Linked DNA regions of Homo sapiens: all the other regions are linked to region 3. Evidence: promoter capture Hi-C in 16 types of primary human blood cells and fetal thymus (Javierre and others, 2016). All regions are on one chromosome and are shown on one strand. The core of a region is centred on a gene start or on the middle of the fragment in contact, and the rest is flanking DNA. Distances in the headings are between cores, read along the strand shown. Region 1 overlaps GALK2 (galactokinase 2). Region 2 overlaps GALK2 (galactokinase 2). Region 3 holds the start of ATP8B4 (ATPase phospholipid transporting 8B4 (putative)).

The links. The method cuts DNA at HindIII sites, captures the fragments that hold promoters and counts their contacts. A CHiCAGO score of 5 or more calls a contact.
Region 1: a fragment that was not itself captured here is called in contact with the fragment with the promoter of ATP8B4 in region 3 in 5 of 17 cell types (monocytes, M1 macrophages, megakaryocytes and 2 more); the score reaches 6.9 in monocytes.
Region 2: a contact is called between a fragment that was not itself captured here and the fragment with the promoter of ATP8B4 in region 3, in 1 of 17 cell types (erythroblasts). The highest score is 5.1, in erythroblasts.

Annotation. Positions count from the first base shown.
Region 1 is chr15:49,229,236-49,233,653 of GRCh38, forward strand. The region is part of intron 3 of GALK2 (galactokinase 2); the gene reads left to right. Among named protein-coding and RNA genes, the nearest start is that of GALK2, 61 kb to the left of the region's middle. RefSeq lists enhancers at 2,341-3,012, 3,013-3,683. The HindIII fragment of the contact is 9,875 bases long and covers 1-4,418 here.
Region 2 is chr15:49,286,757-49,290,844 of GRCh38, forward strand. The region is part of intron 7 of GALK2 (galactokinase 2); the gene reads left to right. Among named protein-coding and RNA genes, the nearest start is that of GALK2, 120 kb to the left of the region's middle. The HindIII fragment of the contact is 3,014 bases long and covers 873-3,886 here.
Region 3 is chr15:50,116,314-50,120,846 of GRCh38, forward strand. It overlaps ATP8B4 (ATPase phospholipid transporting 8B4 (putative)), which reads right to left and starts at 2,920. Exons shown (of 28, transcript NM_024837.4): 1 at 2,810-2,920. RefSeq lists an enhancer at 124-637. The HindIII fragment of the contact is 5,193 bases long and covers 1-2,923 here.

The sequences.
Region 1 (4,418 bases), core at 993-3,492, 890 kb before region 3:
GTATCACTGGTCTCTGATTTCCTCAGTGACTTAGGATATGGTTGTTGTTGGAGACTGTGGATCCTGGCAGTTGTAGCAGTGAGCTGGGTGAGTGGCTGGGTCCTTGGACCCCTGGGTAGTTAGTGTCACCTGTGTGATGGCAGTAGCAGTAGTAGAACAACCCTCTGGCTCCAAAGCATTCTGCATTGTTGTTGGTGGCTGTATTAGGCTGGGTGAGTTGGTCCCCTGTGCCACAGGTGTTGCATGCAGGTGGAAGCTAGCTGTGGTAGTAGTAGTACGTTGGGTGGGCTCATCTTTAGGTCTCTGGGAGAGTATTCAGGTGCCAATGGTGGTAGATTGGTCACAGCCATTCTTAGTACCCTGGATTGTATGCTTAGGCATAGGGGTGGAGTCTGGCAGGGCGGGCCTATCCTCAGGCCTCCTGGTGGTGTATGCAAGTGGTAGGCAGTAGTAGAGTGAACCAAGCCACCTAGTGGAATGCCCAGGTGGTGGTGGCAGTGGCTGTGATGTGGCCCAGCTGCGGGGGAGAGTGGGGTTGCTTTTACTGGCAGCAGTCGTAGACAATTGGCTGGGGAGCATGCACTTTGGCTCCAGGTAGTGGCTGCAGGTGGGGTAGCGTTTCCTCGGGGCACTTGAAAATCCATGGTGGCTCTGCTGCTGTGAATACCAGGGTTCTGCCAGTGGCTCATGGTTTGGCCTCAGCAGTGCAATGGAAGTTGCTGTGAGTGAGGGAGTCTGTATTTAGGGCTCGTGAAAATACACAGCAGTCCCACTGCTGGGAGTATTGTAGTTATTGCCAGTGGCTTACATTTTGGCTCTGACAACAGCAGTTAGCACTCGTGGTGTCTGTGGGTAGGGGACATCAGAGAGGTTGCAAGGATGTGGAGACAGGAGCTGTTGATCCCCATGGCAGGATGCGGTCTAGTAGAGTCTGGGATCTCAGGATAGTGATGTGCAAGTTGCTTAAGACTTGGGGGTGTGTGGAACCCAGCATGAATTTCCTCTTTGGAGCAATGCCATCATGTGATTTCCAAGTAGTTCCTCTGTCAGTCGCATGGTCCTAAAGGGTTGAGGCGCTCTCCTATGGCTAGGATTGCAGGAGTCCTTGATAGTAATGTGGACCACTTGGGGTGTTTCTCTTGCCCTTTACCCACGCTGAAGAGCCTCTCCAGGCTCCCAGCTGATTCTGGCTGAGCAGGCTGCCCTGATTTCCTCTCCTTCCTTGCCTTAGGTGTTCCTTGTCACTTCTTGTTGAATTCAGTGTTCTCTCTTACATGATCTATTCTAACTATGATTGTCAACTTGTTATTTTGGTTCTTCTTTATGGAGGAGGCAAGTACCAGATGCCTACAGGCATTCTTCTGTGCCTCCGACTTCATATTTTTTTTGATGCTACTCTTATTATAAATGGTCTACCCCAGATCCAGACACACACAGGTGTCTTATAATGGTCTACCTACCCCAGGTCCAGACACACACAGGGTAGACACTGGGCAGATGTTTCTTTGAAGAACAAGTAAATGAATAAAATATGTAAGTGGAAAGTATTAATGTAATAATGGGTCATGTCTGCTCATTTTCAGGATTCTTTTCTCAGAATTCTACAAACATGGAAGTGGGGGTAGAGAAAGCAAATGGATAATGTAATGCAGGGTTGAGAATTGGTGGGAAAATGAGTGGTTTTGAACCTCAGGAAAAGGCTAGGTAGAGAGGTGAGATAGGGATGTGGGAAAGAGCAAAGATCAATAACTAATCAAAAAGCAGTTTTTTTTTGTTTTTTTCTGACAGACTTGAGCCATACTTCTAATTCTGTGGGAGCTGGCACTTTTCAGTTTGTATTAGTCCATTCTTACACTGCTATAAAGAAATACCTGAGACTGGGTAATTTATAAATAAAAGAGGTATAAATGGCTCATGATTCTCTACAGGATATACAGGAAGCATGGCTGCGGAGGCCTCAGGCAAATTACAAACATGGTGGAAAGCAAAGGAGAAGCAGGCATGTCTTACATGAGTGGAGCAGGAGGCAGAGGGCTGGGGGCAGCTACACACTTTTTACACAACCAAGTCAAGTGAGAACTGTATCACGAGAAGAGTACCAAAGGGGGAAATCCACCTCTGTGATCCAATCACTTTCCACCAGACCCCACTTCCAAAACTGGGGATTATAATTTGACATGAGATTTGGGCAGAGACACAAATCCAAACCATATTATTCTGTCCCTGGCCCCTCCCAAGTCTCAGGTACTCACATTCCAAAATTCAGTCATCCTTCTCAACAGTCCTCAGAGTCTTAACTCATTCCAGCATTAACTTACAAGTCCACAGTCCAAAATCTCATCTGAGACAAGGCAAGTCCCTTCTGCCTATAAGCCTGTAAAATAAAAAATGGGTTAGTTATTACTTCCAACATACAGTGAGGGTACAGGCACTGGGTAAATACTTCTTTTCCAAAAGGGAGAAATTAGCCAAAAGAAAGGGGCTACAGGCCCCATGTAAGTTTGAAACCCAGCAAGGGAGTCATTAAATCTTAAAGCTCCAAATAATCTCCTTTGATTCCACATCTCACTTCCAGGGCACACTGGGGCAAGGGGTGGGCTCCTAAGGTTGGGAAGCTGCACCTCTGAGGCTTTGCAAAGTAAAGCCCCTGAGGCTGCTTTCATGGGCTAGTGTTCATGCACCTGCGGCTTTTACATGTGCATGGTACAAGCTCCTGGTTGATCTACCATTCTGCAGTCTCGAAGACAATGGCCCTCTTCTCACAGCTCCACTAGGTAGTGCCCCAGTGGGGCTCTGTGTGAGGGATTCAACCCCAGATTTCCCTTCAGTACTGCCCTAGTAGAGATTCTCCATGACGGCTCTGCTCCTGCAGCAGGGTTCTGCCTAGACATTTAGGCTTTTCTACACATACTCTGAAATCTAGGCAGAGGCTCCCGAAGCCTTAACTCTTGCACTCTGAACATTGGCAGGCTAAACACCTCATAGAAACACCAAGTTTTATGGCTTGCACATTCTGAAGCAGCAGCCTGAGCTGTATCTGAAGTCCTTTCAGCCACCCCTGGAGGCAGAGGGGTCAGGATATGGGGAGCAGTGTCTTGAGCCTGTGCAGGGAAGTGGGACCCTGGTCCCTGTTCATGAAACCATTCTTCCTTCTTAGACCTACATGCCTGTGATGGAAGGAACTGCTGCAAAGGTTTCTGAAATGCTTTGAAAGTCTTTTCCCCTTTGTCTTGGCCATCAGCATTTGACTATTCTTTACTTATGCAAATTTCTGTAGCTGGCTTGAACTCCTCCTCCAAAAAGGCCTTTTCTTTTCTACCACATGGCCAGCCTTCAAATTTTTCAAACTCGTACACTTTGCTTCCCTTTTAAATATAAGTTTCAGTTTCAGGTCATTTCTTTGCTCACGCATATGAACATAGGTTGTTAGAAGCAGCAGGCTATATCTTGACTGCTTTGCTGCTTAGAAATTTCTCCTGTCAGTAACCTAAACCATCACTCTCAAGTTCAAAGTTCCACATACCCCTAGATGCCTCCAGGCTCTTTGTTAATGCATAACAAAAATGACCTTTACACTAGTTCCCAAGAAGTTCCTCATTTTCATCTGAGACCTTCTTAGCTGGGATTTCATTGTCCATATCACTATCAGGATTTTCAAAGCAACCGTTCAACAAGTCTCTAGGAAGTTACAAATTTTCCTCATCTTCCTGTCTTTTTCTCAGCCCTCCAAATTGGTCCAACCTCTACCTGTTACCCAGTTCCAAATGCAAATTCACATTTTCAGGTATCTTTATACCAATGCCCCTGTCCTTGTTACCAATTTTCCATATTAGTTCATTCTTGCACTGCTATAAAGAAATACCTGAGACTGAGTGATTTATAAGGAAAAGAGGTTTAATTGACTCACAATTCTACAGGTGTACAGGAAGCATGGCTAGGGAGGCCTCAGGAAACTTACAAGCATGGTGGAAGGCAAAGGGGAAGCAGGCATGTCTACATGGCCAGAGCCAGGAGGAAGAGAGAGAGGTGGGAAGTGCCACAGACTTTTTAAATAACCAGATCTAGTGAGAGCTCTATCATGAAAACAATACCAAAGGGGGAAATCCACCCCCATGATCCAGTCACCTCCCACCAGGTCCCACCTCCAACACTGGGGAATCACAACTTGGCATGAGATTTGGGCAGGGATGCAAATCCAAATTATATCACAGTTCTTTCTGGAACGTTGCTCATGTAGCTTCCTACATATGTGCAACTATCCTCCTCTTTTTCTCCTCATACCTGCCTACCCCCTCTGTTCATATTCCCCTCTCAAAATCTCTTTCTGTTTTTCTTTTCTTAGTGACTTTCAAGATGTCCTTTTAACTAGGAATAGAACCTGTCAGATATGCTAACATAACTGTATCTGCTTTCAAATT
Region 2 (4,088 bases), core at 1,130-3,629, 830 kb before region 3:
CCTTTTTCAGGAGATGGAAGAAATTAGTGTCTTATTTGTTTGAGGGCTTAGTCTTGTTGACCTTTTATCTTGAGGTTGATGAGTAAGTGTTGCCTTCCTAAGGAGACCTCAAACATACACAACATTGTTTTCAAAGTTTTATCACGAAATTAGATATCCTCTACCAGATCCATAGGTGAGCTGAAACAAGTATTAGACATGTAAAATCAGTTCATGTTGTGACTACTCTCCCAAAGATACAAGAAGAAAATGATGGATAAAATTGTAGTGCTGAGTCTCTGTAGTAAAAGTTATTGGGATGTGGGAATGTTTTTTGAGAGTTAACTAGAAAAAGGGCATCTCCTTTGGAAGCAGTAGTAGCTGAAGATCTTAATCCACTGCAGAACCTCCTGTTCTTGAGGATGTTTTCTCAGTTTAACTGCGTAACCCCATATGCATTTTAGAGGTACTTTGGTCAGCAAAATTGGCATCTGAATTTGGCTTTTTGCTACACACTCCTCCCAATTGACGTAGATAAACACACTGTTTTAAATACTCTGAATTTTTCTCTTTTAAAATGTGGAAGAAAGAAAAATGAAAGACTTTATCAAGATGGAAAATGTTTTCTAAATCATGTTGCTGCAAATCACTAAAATCCCAGGTTTTATACAAAAGGGAAATGAAGATAAAACTGCTAATGTGCACTTTACTCAGAGATATTGATATTAGGAATATGCTTTTGCTTAGGAATATAGGCTGGAATTCTACTAAGCATATTTTCTTTGCAATATGGTTCTATTCTTCCATTTTTGGCAACATGTGAATGAATATAATTATTGTTTGAAGATGGTCTCATTAAATAAATAACCTCTCATGTAAAAAGTTTAAAAAAAAGCTTATCTCAATCTGACCAAACTTTCTGTTTTCCAACAACAATAATGAAGTGTCAGTTGAAGAATGGCTAATCAAGATAGTTTTGAAAATGAGACTGAGACTGATCAGCTAGGGCTCCACATGGCAAAGTTGTAATGAAGAACATTTATTTTTCCTTTCTTCCTATTTTTCTCAGATCCTTTTTTGAAAATGAGTACCTTTTTTTAATCAAGTTAACACAGAGAAGTACACTAAACCAGTAAAGACAATTTTTCTTTGTTTTGCATTAATGCTAGCAATTTCTTCTATTCTCAACTTCTTTCTCATCTTGTTTCTCTGTCTCTGTCTCTTTCTCTCCATCAGCTTTCAAAAGCTAATTCATGCAAATTCATAAAAAGTCAGAGCCTTGTAGAGCATTTGACTAAAATTAAAAATTTTTCAAAGCAAACTCGAGATTTATAATTACTACTTGTATAAATGATATCTTAATGAAGCACATTTTTATGATAAAGTAGCCAAGGATCTTTAGTAGGTACAACATTTTTCATATTTTACACACATTTGGGGCTTAAATGTTTCCAGAAGTGCTTTTCTTATACAGTATCCCTTAGTTATGTTGAAGAATAAAATGTGTGATACCCATGATAAGTATTATGGGAAGTCAGGTAGGGAAGAGAAATTATACTGTTGCTTTTTGCATACCCTGAGCTCCTTGTGGCAACATGAGAAGCAGTGAAAGAGAGAGTTTCATATGTTCCTTTGACACTTCAAGGAAAATTTACAGTGATTCTTTACAGGGCCTGTCTGGTCAGGGGCCATCAGTCACCCAGTTTTTCAGCTCCTTTCATTTAGTAGTTGGTATGAAACTTATTCTTTGTCTGGTGATAGAATGGGAGGAGAAGTTGGCATAATAGTCTCAGGGTTTTGGCAGTTTCCTTGAATTTGAGCAGAGAAAAACCAAATACTCAAGAATGTAGCCAATTTCACGCAGCCAGTTGATTCAATAGTGCATACTCTGCCAAGACTCTGGCATGGAGTATTCAGGCAATGGTGAGTCCGAGCTGCATGGCAGAGGACATACATACTGGGGAATAGGGGTAATGTGTTTAGTGGAACCAGATTGTGGCAGGACCTTCAGTGCTATGCTCAGCCTTACCCAGGCTTGGCTTTGAAAGCAGTGGTTGTTAGCAAGGTATTTTAGAAATATTAATATGACAGCAGGAGCTTTTGCCTTGGTTGAAGAGAAGTAGGTACTAGAGTATCAGTGAGGATGGGATAAAAAGGGAGAGATGTGAGAGAAGCTCTGACTGGACCTAGTAAGGGTTGGGTACAGGCTCTCTGTGATTGGATTTTTGTTTTCCTTCTGGCATATACTTCATTACTTTGAGGAAGTTTTCCTTGACTACCTCCTGACCTCAGTTAGGTGAAACACTCTTTTATGTGCTCTTACCATGTCCTGTATTTTTCTATTATAGCAGTTTATCATAATTGGATTAAGTTCTTTATGATAAATGTAGTTTTAATTTAACCTCTGTCTTTTCTGGTGGGCTGTGAGCTGCACGTGGTCAGGAGCCATGTGTGCCTTACTCACTGCTGTCTGCCTGGAGCCTGGGAAGTAATAGGCACTCAGTAGACACTCACTGTGAGCAGATGCACATGAATGAAGGAAATGAAGAAAAGGTGTTGAGTCAATAAGGGCTGCAGCTTCAAGGTGCAATGGTTGGTGAAAAGCATAGTGCTGCCATTGATAGGTTTTGAGAAGGCAGGATGGACTAGAAGTTGACTAAAAAGTAGGAGATGATGAGAATTCTTCATGAATATCTTAACACTTTCTCTACCATACCCTCTTACCAGAAGACCCAGGGAGTCTCAGACCAAGAACAGAGGGCTTAGTATTTTTGTTTGTGTCTGGGACAACCTGAAAGTGCTAGGGAGTTAATATCCTTGAGAGCCACCTCAATCAGTGGTAACTGGGAGTTATTGGGTAAATACTTTGGCTTTCTTGCCCATGGTGGGACATGACTGAGCTTTACACATACAGGTTCCTGAGAACCTGTGATTTGAAGCTCAGCGGGCCCAGACTCACCTGCCAATATCAGTACACCTCATATTGGCGTCTTTTCCTGTTTCACTTTCCATTCCTCTCTTAATGCTTCTTAGGATCACCTTCCCCTCAAATTCTTACCCTCAAATTTTTGTCACAGGGCCTGCGTCTGAGAGAAACCAACCTAAAACAGAGTTTTAGCACCATTTATCAGTGCCTCTTTCCATGACTGTGGACAAAGCACTTGTTGCCTGCTTTTTTGTCCACAGAGCATGGAACAGAGCTCAGGAACCTCTCAGAAGTGGTATCTGATAGGAATACTTAATGTTTGCCATGGTGAAAAGAAAGTGGTGAATGTGGACAAAGAACTGCCTTCTCTTATTTCCCCACCCTACTACTGAGTGAGAAAGTTGTGACAAAATAACCTATAGCCCTGACTTATAGCCCTGCTTCACAAATGTGAAGGAGGCCAGTCACCTGGGCCACAAGTGCCTCCATGAAGCTCTGTCTTTGAACAATGGTGATCTTATCCACCCATTTCCTTCATCTGAAAGTCATCTTTCTGTTTTTCAAGCCAAATTTCAAAGGGCTTAAGAGGCTTTTCTATTTGACTCCCTCAATGTAGTGTAATTCAACAGCTCACGGGCTGTGCAGCTGTCATTGAGGGCATATGGTAGATTTCATCCTTAATTGAAATACACACCAAATTGGCTGTGTGGATTCTCCAGCTGAGGGCTCACTGGACAACTGGTGTCACAGTAAAGTGGGATATTGCTGGAGTGAATGTGAACTCTATGTTAGTGCCTCAATCTGCAGAAGAGCACATCAGGAGGCTGCCTTTGAAAACTGAATCTTGTGGGCTGTAGCCATCCCTTGCAGACTTTCTCCCCACACATCACTGGCCCAGTTTTCTTGGATCAAGTGCCTGGGGCAATGTGACTGGTTCAAGAGAGAATGGGAATGGGAACTTGGAGATTACTGTGGACTGAAAGCTTCTTAGGAAGAGCCCACTGTCATCTCTTGGGGGCAGTTCTGTGATGTTTTTCTTTTTTTGTTTGGAAGGAACCCATTTATCAAAGTGTTTTTAAATTACTGGAATGTTCACTTCTAGCACAGATCTAGGTTTGTGTTTTGAAATGCGTTTCTAAGACTTGATCGGTGATTTTAATTCATGTGGGTAACATGATATAGT
Region 3 (4,533 bases), core at 1,670-4,169:
GGGGTGACTTCCAGGTTTTTGCCTTGGGACACTGAGGGAATAGAGGTGCCACTATGATGATAAATACAGCAGTGAAGGGAAAAGGAGGAGAAGGTGGAGGGGCAGAAGAAGGAATTGGGATGAAAAAATAATGTATTTAGTTTGAACATGTGGGCTTAAAATGCCTCTTGATCATTGAAAACATCCTCACAGCACTAAAGACAAAAAGACAGATTTGTAGACTTGGAATCATCAACATATAAGGAAGGAGTGAAGTCAAGGGGGAATGAATGACCTCACCCAGAAAGGACAAGAACAAAGAGAGGTGAGGAAAGGACAGAGGACGAGGAACAAGGACAGAGCTCTAGAGGGCGCTCAACTTCAAAAGAAAGGTCAGTGAAGGATCCATTGAAATGAAATGCTGTGGCCCTCCCTCTGTGACCTTTTCCCCTAGGCATCTAGTACAGTGCCCGGCACTGGGTAGGTACTCAAACTCCAGTTGAGTAAATAAAAGGAGAGAGAAAAGCAAGGTAGCTTTAAAGTAAGGAAGGAACATGTTTCCAAAAACATAATGATCAATAATATTTAATATTTAATTAGAATTTATTAATATTTGAAATATATAATGTTGCTAGGAGGTTACTATTTTTTAATATCTTTTCATGAGAGATTCTAAAAATAAATACTTGTTTCTAATTCTTACTCATGCTATACAAGAATTTAGATTACACACATTAAGTTTTGTTTTTTATTTTTTATTTATTTATTTTTTTGTGGAGACAGAGTCTCGCTCTGTCACCCAGGCTGGAGTGTAGTGGCCTGATCTCGGCTCACTGCAACCTCCACCACACGGTTCAGGCGATTCTCCTGCCTCAGCCTCCTGAGTAGTTGAGATTACAGGAGCCCACCACCATGCCTGGTAAATTTTTGTATTTTTAGTAGAGAGGGCGTTTCATCATGTTGGCCAGGGTAGTCTCGAACTCCTGACCTCAAGTAATCCACTTGCCTCAGCCTCCCAAAGTGCTGGGATTACAGGCATGAGCCACTGCATCTGGCCAAACATACATTAAGTTTAATTTCAATGACAGCTACAATTTCCAATTTACTTTTAGATGGTTAGTTAACTCTTTTCCTACTAAATGAAAATATTCAATATGCCACATATGAAAAAAATAAAATTCTCCCACCCACAAAAAAATCCTCCAGGGGCACAAAAAAAATCATTTGTTCCCTCATTTTTAAATATTTCTGCATGATGAGACAATATAAAGGCACAATATAGGTTAAAATAAATCACTCTGTGGTTTCTCAAAAAAAGTGAAAACAGATCCACCATATGATCCAGCAATCCCACTTCTGGGAATACATCCAAAAGAAAGGAAATAAGTACCTTGAAGAGATATCTGTACTCCCCTGTTTATTGCAGCACTATTCACAATAGCCAAGATATGGAAGCAATAATATTTCTTCTTGAGGAATAAAATTTTTAAATGTGGTATTTATATACAATGGAATATTATTCAGCCATGAAAAAGAATAAAACTCTATCATTTGCAGCAACATGGATGGAACTGGAGGATATTATGTTAAGCAAAATAAGCCAGGCACAGAAAGACAAATATCACATATCCTCTGTCATATGTGGGAGCTAAAAAAGTTGATCTCATGAAGGTAGAGAGGGAGAATGGTGGTTACCAGAGGTTAGGAAGGGGAAGAGGAAGAAGGGGGTGAAGGTAGGCTGGTTAATGGGTACAAACATACAGTCAGATAGAAGGAACAGGTTCTAGTATTTGATAACACGGTAGTATGACAATAGATAATGATAATTTATTTTTTATTTATAATAAACGATATAGATATAAACGATAAAATAAACGATATAGATAATGATAATTTATTGTATCTCAAAATAGCTAGCAGATTTGGAATGTTCCCAACACAAAGAAATGGTAAATGTTTGAGGTGATATATATGCTAATTACACATCGTATGCATATACCAAAATATCACATGTACCCCATAAATATGTGCAGTTATTACATATCACATAAAAAATAAAAAATACATTTAAAAAAATCAAAACTGAAATCACTCTGAGTTTACATTTTGTAGTAAAGGCCAGCATGGAGCAACAGCTGAGTAAAAGGGGATACTTCATGGGCACAGGTGTTGGTAATCCCACAAGAAAACCTGTGTTTCCTCATTTACTTTCTAACAAGACTTCAGCTTCCAATTAATGTTTTTCACCAGTTTTCTTTTCTTCAAAACAGCTAATTGTTAACCAGGGACCTGAGACACTCTCTTGCCTATAAACAAAACAACTAGAAGGATACCTTTTTCTGTTCAGACAAATTTTAGCACTAAAAACATAACCCTCAAACCTCAGAGGGATAGCTCAGTGCAAACTGTTCATGTCTAAAGCATAAATTGACCATAAACAATATATTGAATAGGTGCACTGTATACAAACCCCGTGAAAAAAATAAAACCAACTACTACCAAAGGAAGTGACAAAGACCTACAAACCAAGAAGAAATGTACCTTTATGCTACTATCATTGGTCATTTAATAGGCATGCTAACAGAGTAAAAAATAGACATTTCAAACAACAAAAAAGAAAATGTCACATCTCCCATTTCCAACTAACTCCCCCAAATTTATTTTTTAGCAAAAGGGGAATAATAAAGAATATTTGTGAAACCTTAGTCACCAAGATGAAAACAGCAAAACAAAATAGGGATCTGGAGAAAAGAAACAGATCGTTCCAACCAGCCCACAGCTAAATTTCCACTTCATCTCACTAACCATTGAATGCTACCCATCTACTCACCTCAACCCAGACTTAATCCTCTCCCCCAAAAGGAAGATTTCTCAGCAGTGCAGGAAGATCAAACAGGTATCCATTCCGTGACCATGCCAAGGAGAAAAGCAAGGCTACTCTGAAAGCTTGAGGGATGATACAGAAAACAAACTGGGTCTCTAGGGGGCATTCTCAAAAACCTGAGATCAACTCCTGGAAAAACACTCTTGACCACTTACCACCACCGGAAGCTGCTAGATGGCAATCAGAATCAGCATCTCATCAGAAGAAGAGGAAGACCTTACAAGAAAGCAGCTTCACTGTCAGTGAGGAATTGAGGGAGAAAAGCACTCCTTGGAAAAATGCTGAAAGCCCTGAAGAGCCTCTCCTCCCCTAGTTGCCTGCTCCTGCTGACAGGACAGAACTGGTTAATCTTGGGGAAACAAAAGGAAACTCCCAAGAGGCTGGCTTCTGAGGATGGCTTCCTCTGTGGGAATCAAGAATTCAGGAGGATGAAAATGAACAATGGAAGGGGACACCGGCTACCAGGCCTACTTACCAAACTTTTACCAGCCCTTGACTGAGGAAGATAAGCAAATCTGTTTGCAGTTCCCACCTGCTTTTGCAGAGATGAAAGAATCAGCAGTGGGTTTTTGTCACTTTTTTTTTTTTTTTTTTTTTTTTTTTACAGGGGAAGTTCAGCTCTCTTATGGATGAAAGCTAAGCATACTCAAGTGACATTTAGTAGGCAAAGCAATGACACTTCTTTCCCAACATCCTTAATTTCAGCACAGAGGATGCAAACATTAACCCTGATGGTACCAAAGAACAAATGCACATAGGAAATGGATTTACATCTTTTAGTTTGGAATTGCTTTTAAGGGGATTCTGGTTGTTAAAGCGGGATTAGATGAAAATAAAATATTTTGGTGCATATCTATTTTTAAAAGGAAAAATATGGCTTCTTTTAAATATGCCTAAAGCCATCTAGGAATTTTCCAGAAGTTGCATCAGATTTGCCAGTTAAGTACTGAAATCAAATAGATTTTAATCATGTCTCTATAACCAGAGCAAGCTAATCCCCTGCGCACCATCAACTCCACTCTCCTGGAACATCCTCACGCTGGGCCCTCAGGTTTTCACAGAAACAAGGGCCTTTTCCTACCAAGGTTCCACAGTAACAAGAAACTACAGATTTCTGGAAATAAGAGAGATGGCTTTCTTTCTTACATGATAAAAGAGGACCAAGAACAGCTTAGAGCAGGAAGCAATCATCTCTTTAAAATATTTAAAATAAAAAACACTTTTAAGTGAAAAACATTTTTAAGTATCACCTCTATACCATTTTTAAACCTATCATATGGGGCAAATATAAGTTTGGTAATTCCCTTTGTTAAAGAAGATATAAGGAAATCAGGGCCTTTTCCTTTTCCTATACTGTTAGTGGGAATATAAATTGGTAAAATATTTTTTAAAGGAAACTGAGTATAGTAGTGCCTATCAAGTATTGAAATGTGTATGTGTTTTTATTTCTTAGGAATTTACCTTATAGAAAACCACACACACGTGCAAACATATCTCTAAATATGTTAATTATAGCACTATGATAGCAACAACAAAAAAACACCTAAAAATGGCTTACATATAAGAGACTGCCTAAATAAGTTAAGGTATATTGATACAAAAGAGTACTATGTAGCCATTCAAAAGAGGGTAGAATTGGAGTAAGGAATCAGGTCATCTGAGTTTAGTTC